Linked DNA regions of Homo sapiens: region 1 is linked to region 2. The links are contacts of gene promoters, found by promoter capture Hi-C in blood cells and fetal thymus (Javierre and others, 2016). All regions are on one chromosome and are shown on one strand. Each heading gives the region's core, a stretch centred on a gene start or on the middle of the fragment in contact. The rest is flanking DNA. Distances are from core to core; before and after follow the strand shown. Region 1 overlaps GAB3 (GRB2 associated binding protein 3). Region 2 holds the start of HCFC1-AS1 (HCFC1 antisense RNA 1).

Region 1 (4,046 bases), core at 69-2,568, 750 kb before region 2:
TGTCGCCCAGGCTGGAGTGCAGTGGCGCGATCTCGGCTCACTGCAGGCTCCGCCCCCCGGGGTTCACGCCATTCTCCTGCCTCAGCCTCCCGAGTAGCTGGGACTACAGGCGCCCACTACCTCGCCCGGCTAATTTTTTGTATTTTTATTAGAGACGGGGTTTCACTGTGTTAGCCAGGATGGTCTCGATCTCCTGACGACAAATTATTTTTCTAATATCATAATGAACTCATGGATTTAAGTGTATTTGATGGATTTCAAGCTACTATAATTATTACACAATCATGCATCATTCAATGACGGGCATATGTTCTGAGAAATGTGTCATTAGGTGATTTAGTCACTTTGCAAACATCACAGGGTGTACTTACACAAACCTAGCTTACTACACACCTAGGCTATATGTTATAGCCTGTTGCTTCTGGGCTACAAACCTGTACAGTATGGTACTATATTGAATACTGTAGGCAATTGTAACACAATGGTAGGTATTTGTGTATCTAAACATAGAAAAGGTACAATAAAAATATGGTATTAAATCTTTTGGGATTCAGATGTCTCGGAGGATTGAAAAAAAATCTTATAGGACCACCATTGTATATTTGGTTCATTGTTACTATTATGTCATGCAGCATATGACTATTTATGAAAGCAAAAATTCTTTCATATATGGCCAGTGGTAGCCTCTTCAGGTTAGCCCCTAAGTCCTTTTGACATGGCCCTCGTCATTCCTTGTGGCATTGTTTCACTGTAAAAAGCTTCACTTTAGTGCTGGCAGACTGACTGCTTTCAGGGGCTTTGTCACATGTCTTCCATTTTCCAGAAGCCTGTAAGCCTGGTGGAACAGAACTATATGTGGCCTCTGGTTTTACCTACTTAGCAAAGAGCTCCAAGAACACCTCACTTCTGTTTTTGCATAATCAAAACTCTTATGTAGAGATTTAAAAACCTAAGGGATGACACACTGGCGATTTTGCATGATTCAGCATCAAGACTATGCTACGTCCTATTTAAGTTACTGTGTGACTGTTCTTTTTCCTTTCCACCCTCATGCCTGCCTTCCAGCCCTGCTGAACTACTTACGCAAAGTTTTGAGCCTTTCCACCTTAATGCCTTTGTGCACGCTGCTTCCTCCTGCCCCACTTTAGCCTTAGCTTAGTCACCACTTCTTCCTGGAAGCCTCCCCAGACAACTGATCTGAGAGAGATGTCTCTTTTGTTTGTTCCCATAGCATCTTGGTTTTGCCTTATCGTAGCACTTATCTCACTGATTGCAATCGTCTGTTTATCCATCTGCTCACTCCCTTGTTGCCCATGAGACTGTGAGTGGCAGGGCATGTGGCTTGCTCACTTCATCTTCCCCAGTATCTGCACAGTGTCCAGCATATTAGTGGGCTATCAACAGGTAATTGTTGAATGAATGGATAAAGCCCAAACTTCTTCATGTCACTCTTCCCATTGCACTCCCACCACTCCTGGTTCATTCTTCTGCTAGACCGCTCACTACGCTGAGTTGAAATCTACCCATATCATAATTCTACCCTTCTCCCTATCCCAGCTAGAGAGTGAGGTCTTTTAGGGACCAGCTCTAATCCCCTTTTCTAGCTTCATTGTCTAGCAGGATGCACAGTGCAGAGTAGGCACTCAAATAAACTCTTGGTGTTACTTCTCTTCCAATATTGTTATTAAAAGATAAGAAATCTATTGTCTCCATAACACTAAGAGCGGTTAATGTGAAACTTGTTTCTGTGCTTAGTTTGACTTCCTCTTTTAGAATCATTTTTGGGAAGTGCAACAAAGTTCCTCTTTACATTTCCCCCACCAAAGTGGCTTTTGGAAAGTTTGGAGCACCCCATGCTCCCTCCCCATGAAAGCTTTCCTCAGCAGGCACAAATGGCATTCTCTCATCCCCTGAGCCCCTTCCCTGGACTAGGCCTTATGTTCCTGTTTGCCTCAGTTGATGCCAGAAGCCCAGGTTTCCCACTTTCAAACCCCACAGCAAAACTTGAGCTCCTTCTCTTATGTTTAGTGGCTCTACTCCCATCCAGTGCCACGTTTTTGCAACAGGAATTTACTGAATCAATTTTTCTCTCCCTCTTGGGTCACCCCCACGAGCATACAAACATGCTGTTATTTTTCCTGTCTTAAAAACATGGACTTAATCACACCACGTTGTTTGTCTCCTGAGATGGTCTCCTTGTTTGACTCATGGCCAGACCTCTTTTCAAAGCTTTATACTGTCTGTAAAGGCAGGAGCAAACCAGGGTTCACCTGCCCCAACCTGACATGGAGTGACTGCCTTCCTTCTGCTTGCTGCCCCTTGCCTCAGTCCTGGAAGGGCTTTTTATTCTAAGGCATAATTGGAGGTCAGTGCTTCTTTGGATTCTCTGCCATCTCAGATTCATGTTCTCTGAGCAGGGAGGGAGCTGAGAATACTCCAAATAGTGTCTTTTCCTTTTTCCCTGGCCTCTTGGTCAAAGCTGGTGGGCTTAAAAAGTATCACACATAAATGAAGCTAGAGATACAAAAGACTTCCTGTCCCAGGGGTCGCTGTACCTCCTGGCAGAACCCCACACTTCCTGCTGTCACACATGCTACCGCATGGGAGAGAAAAACCACAGAGCTATAAATCTCCCTGCGGTCAGCCGTCATCCTTCTCTGTGCTCAATTCCCAACTGGGGCTAATGCCATAGTTCCCTACCGCAGAAAGTAAGGATACGCTATCCATGCAGGCTGGCCTATCTGGCCCTTCGATGAACAAAGGGCACCTAAATGTAAGACAAGGAACTCAAACATTTCCTTCCCCCTGGCTCCATGAGAGGGCAGGGAGGTTTACAGATCCAGGGGACTCCCTAGGGCTTTGGTCAATTGTAAATACCTCTTTCCCCAGGCCAGAGATCTGCACCCTTTCTTTGTACTGAGCCAAGATGGTACTGTCTACATCAAAAATTCTAAGTCAATGGTGAGTGGGAAGCCAAGGAGCCCTAGGTCATTCTCAGTTGTTCTCAGGGCACAAAAAGAGACCTGTCAAATCTTGGCACTGGTTTCTGTGGAATATCATTCTCTTTTCTTTTCTGAGCATGGACTGAGCTTTACCTGTTCATCTGACTTCCAGGCTTGGCTCTTTCCAAGATTCCTATTCCATTAAGGAAAATTCCTTTTTGTTTTTACAGTGTTTCAAAACAGGGGCACTGATAGCTTTAGGCCAATCCTGCCATGCCCCACCCCCCACTCCATCTCCAGCCTTTATAACAAGCAAAACCCACATATTTTCAGATGCTCCCGAGAGGAATTATACCATCCCTGGTTGAAAAACACTGTGACTTAGGGGGTGAATGCTTAAGAGTCTCCCATCTTTAAAAAATCCCTTGACCCCAGAGCTTTCCCCCTTTACAGTCAGATGTTTCTGGAGAGCTGGCTACACTTCCTCTCTCTCTTTATTTTTTAACTTCACATCCATTACCGATCCTTCCATCCCAACCTGAGTTCAAATTCATTCCTACAGTTGTTTAGCTATGTGACCTTGAGCACATTACTTAATCTCTCTGAACCTCAATTTTATCAGACATAAGATGGAGATAGTAATAGTTACCCCTCCCATAGTATAGTTTTAGGGATTAAATGGGTTACAGTAAAGCGCTTAGACAAGGGTCTCTTACATAGGAAGTGTAACTAGCCAAGCTAGTTAATTCTCTGAGAATTCTATTAGTGTTTTAATCATCATTGGGGGTTTTATGGAAGACAATTTGTCACCTTCAGACACTGGCAATCTTCTCTCCTCCTCTCCAATGTGTATGATTTTCCTTCTTGGCCAGTTGTGTAGAACTTAAATAGCAATGTTGGAAGATACTGGGGCAGTGGTGAGCATTTGTGATTTTCATCTGATTTTAATGTATGATATTGGCTCTTGAACTGAGATACATAATAGTAAGAAAGCTTCCTTCTAGTTCTTTATTGCTAAGATTCTTTTAAAGCTTCAGCATATGTTAAATTTGTACTACATTCCTTTGCTGCATCAATTTCAATGATTGTATAATTCTGGCCCTT
Region 2 (3,692 bases), core at 1,156-3,655:
GCGGCTCCCAGGGCCTCCCGCCCGAGCTTGTAAGCGGGAGCGCCCGGACAAGTAGTCGGGGCGACGGGACTCAGCGGCCTCCAGCTTCTTGAGCCTAGGCGCTCGACAGTTTCGGGCGGCTCTTGCGGAGACGGGGTGAGCGAGAAGAAAGGGAAGAGCCAAAGGGAAGGAGGGCAGTTAAGATGGCGGCCTCCATGGAGTCGTCTACCGCTGTGTGAGAAACCGCTTCTCCGTGAGAGCTGCCTTAGACGAAAGGGGGTGTGTGAAAGGAATTGAGGGGCTCCCTTCCCGCTTGTTGACTTCTCCCCACCGCACCCTTTCCCGGAACTATGGCTTCGGCCGTGTCGCCCGCCAACTTGCCAGCGGTGCTTCTGCAGCCCCGCTGGAAGCGAGTGGTGGGCTGGTCGGGTCCGGTGCCACGGCCCCGCCACGGCCACCGCGCCGTGGCCATCAAGGAGCTCATCGTGGTGTTTGGCGGCGGCAACGAGGGAATAGTGGACGAACTGCACGTGTACAACACGGGTGAGTGCAAAGCCCGCTGGGTCTTCGGCTCTTTCCCTCCCTCCATCTCCTCCCTCTCCCTCCTCTTTCCTCCCTCCCTCCATCTGCTCCCTCCCTCTCCTCCCTCCCTCCATCTCCTCCCTCACCCTCTACCCTTCCCTCTCTCTCTCCCCTCCTCCCTTACCCGTCCTTCTCCCCTCTCCCCGTCCCCCTCCCCCTTCTCCCCTCCTCCCCCTCCCTCCCCACTGATCGGCTTGCCCCTCCCCTTTGCTGTGCCGGGCTTCAGTGCTTTTCTCTGATCTTCTCCCCGTTCCCTTGTCTCTCCCGTGTTTGAGGATTGGTTTTCGTTAGTTAAAAGAAAGCCCCTAGTCCGACTGGTGAGGGAGAGGGGCTGTCGCCAGCGGTGGTGACTTCAGACCCACACCGTTACCCAGCGGGCTGGGGCTGGGGCTGGGGCGGGCGGATGTGTCCCCTTGGCGCAGGCAGAGCTCCCCTCCCTCCCTCCCTCCCTTCTCCTGCGCCTGCTCAGCTCTCCCTCATCTCGAGTGCCCATTCTGGAGAAATGACCATTTCTAGATTACAGATTCGTTCTCTGTCTCTCGAAAAAGGGAGGGAAGGGAAGCGCTCTTAGGACGCAGAGTTTAACATCCGCCGACCCGGGTAATGCCGGAGCCTTGGGGACCCCTAGGACGGGCCGGCGGCAGGGCCGCCTCTCCCTTTCCACGTTTACTTCTGCAGCATTTCTTTCCAAGTCGCCCCTTCTCCTAATCTGGTGCCTTCTGGTTTACAAGCTGAATTCCAGTTACCCCTCAGCGGCCTGCGTAGTCGTGTGTCTCCCCGCTTCTGCGGATCCAGGGGGTTACCCCACCCGCTCTTCTGCCTCCCTGCAAAACCCAAAGCCCGTTAGTTGGGAAGGGGAGGAACCTCTCTCTTCAGGTATGGCTGATGCACCACGGCCTTCGTGGGGGCCGTTTGTTGTTGCCTCTGCCTAGTAGCCTTGCTTAGTCTCTAGGGCAGAAAGCCTGCTGCTGTCCACGACAGCTTTGTGGCATCCTTTTTCTTGGTGGCTACTTGGCCCGTTTTGTGCCCCTAGCACAAGGGTCAGTTCCCAAGTTGCCTACTGACTGCCCGTTGGCCCACAGGACCCTGGCCTTGCCCAGAAGGCAGGGTCAGGGTGAGTTCGGTCCCAGGCAAGAGCTGGAAGAGTCTGGGTGAGGGAAAAGCCCCCTGCAGGCGGCTGGGGGAGGGCCTTGGGATGCCCTAGTCCTGAGTGGCAGGCACGGCTCCCAGCACTAACCCCTTGCTCCGCGGCCGTTCTCTCCTGGGGGCTCTAGCGATCCCCTGGCCTCGGTGGTGGCCCTGCAGACAAACCCTCGCTGAGTGGGCTTTGTGTCCTGAGCGGTGAGAGGCTGCTGTTCTTTGGCTGAGCTCCAGTGCCTCGATGCTCTGGGGGTGGGAAGCTGGAGCTGCCTGGAGGGAGAAAGTTGGTTTAGGGAGTTGGGAAGGCTGGAGCTGGGCTCTTGGGTGCCGCTTCCTTCCCCACCCCCCAAGGCAGAAAGTGCTGGTTTCTCCACATCTCGGAGATTATCGCCACCTACCACGTTGACTTTGAAAGGCTGGTGGGTTGTCTGTGACCGTTTTTCGTTCCAGGTCTCTCAGCACCTGTTGCCTCCAGGGAGCAGGGCCTTTCTCAGCAGCCCCCGGGCGGGGGCGCTTGGTGGTTGGTGGTGCCCCGCGCCAGCCCAGGCAGCTGCAGTAGCAGGAATTAGCTCAGTAAGCTAAGGCTTCTCCAGTGGTGGGGCTGTTTATAGAGGCACCGTCACCATGAGCAGCACCTTCTCCACTCTGTGGACCGACTTTCTTCTCATAAGGCCTGGAGCAGGCTCCCTGGCAGGGAAATGCAATTTTAGAAAGTAGGGCAGGGGCCTAATTACAGTCGGCTCCAGAGTCCACCACCACTGCTGCCTTGGCTTCCTGGGGCCTCTGCATATTCATTAGTTTATTAAAATGAATTGACCACTTTGGCATGAATTCATTACCAGTCTGCAAAGACAGGTTGTGCATTAGAGGGGTAGCCTGCCTTCCAAAGGGCTGCTTAAAATGAAGCTCTGGGATCCTCCAGGGTAGCAGTTTGGAAACTGTCATCGGCAATTCCTCAGACGAGAGAGCAGCTGGCAGACCTGAAGCCCTCTTCCTCACCGGGGTTTCTGCCCCCTCCCGCCAGCCCGGCCTCGTCACCTTTGTCTTGTCTTCTTTTGTTGTGTTTGGGATGAGATCAGGGCATATTCTCACGCCTGTGCCCCTTGCAGTTCTGCGGGATCAGTCCTCAAAAAGCCTTGTACCTTTGGAGAGAGCTGATCTGGAAGGGGTTCCCGTTGCTAGGATAAGAAAGCTTCAGGGGGTGTGTGCTTTGAGAGCTCTTAGGGTAGCTACTGTGCTTGTCCTTAGGGAATTTTAGTTCCATGTGGCAAGCCAAAGGATTCAGAGTGCTGCCAGGTGTGGGGGGTGGGGGAGCGAGAGCTTTGGCTACGGTGGCTCTGTAATGTCCATAGGTTCTTGGAGCTGGAGGGAGCCTTGGAAAATACCTAGTGGAACTACTTCCTTGTTTCTGCAGATGAGGAAATTGGGGTCCAAGAGGGGAAGTGACAGGTCCAGGGTCGCCCTCCCAGCTGGTGGCGGAGTTGGGCGGGAGTGCAAACCTTCATAGAGGCCGTTCTGCCACCTGTCTTTGGGGCCCATCACCTTTGAAATGCCTCCATTCTCTCCTCTGTCCCTGTATCTAATTGTTCATTGCGTTGGGCAGGCATCAAATGTGTCCCCTTCCACACCAAGCCCTCCTCTCCTCTTACTAGACTCTTGCAGTCACTTCCTGATTGGCCCTGCTAGTTTCATTTGTCGGGAAATCCTGTTCACCCTTCAAGGCCCGGCTGAAACGTCACCTCTTCTGAGAAGCCCTTTCCACTCCTGTCCTCCCCTCTCCAGCAGTCGCACTGCTCTGTGCTCCCAAGGGCCCGGCTTGGTCAGAGCTCTTCTAGGGTGTTTGTCTCATCGTGGGAGGGGGGCATGCAGCCTTCCTACCCCATTGGGAGTATGAGCACAAGATCGGTGTCCTCTGTGCCTCCCAGCACGTCGTATGCCACACAGGAAATGCTCTAATGTGACAGGTAGAACAGAGAGGAAGGCAGCTCGTT

The links. The method cuts DNA at HindIII sites, captures the fragments that hold promoters and counts their contacts. A CHiCAGO score of 5 or more calls a contact.
Region 1: a contact is called between a fragment that was not itself captured here and the fragment with the promoter of HCFC1-AS1 in region 2, in 2 of 17 cell types (activated CD4 T cells and total CD8 T cells). The highest score is 6.2, in activated CD4 T cells.

What each region holds. Positions count from the first base shown.
Region 1 is chrX:154,716,564-154,720,609 of GRCh38, reverse strand. All of the region lies in intron 1 of GAB3 (GRB2 associated binding protein 3), which reads left to right. Among named protein-coding and RNA genes, the nearest start is that of GAB3, 32 kb to the left of the region's middle. RefSeq lists an enhancer at 962-1,256. The HindIII fragment of the contact is 1,115 bases long and covers 761-1,875 here.
Region 2 is chrX:153,967,478-153,971,169 of GRCh38, reverse strand. HCFC1-AS1 (HCFC1 antisense RNA 1) reads right to left here and starts at 2,405. Exons shown (of 3, transcript NR_046608.3): 1 at 2,100-2,405; 2 at 1,799-1,971; 3 at 1,079-1,385. HCFC1 (host cell factor C1) reads left to right here. Exons shown (of 26, transcript NM_005334.3): 1 at 1-522. The coding sequence starts at 330. RefSeq lists enhancers at 1-261, 1-752, 742-981 and a silencer at 1,768-1,946. The HindIII fragment of the contact is 6,911 bases long and covers 1-2,895 here.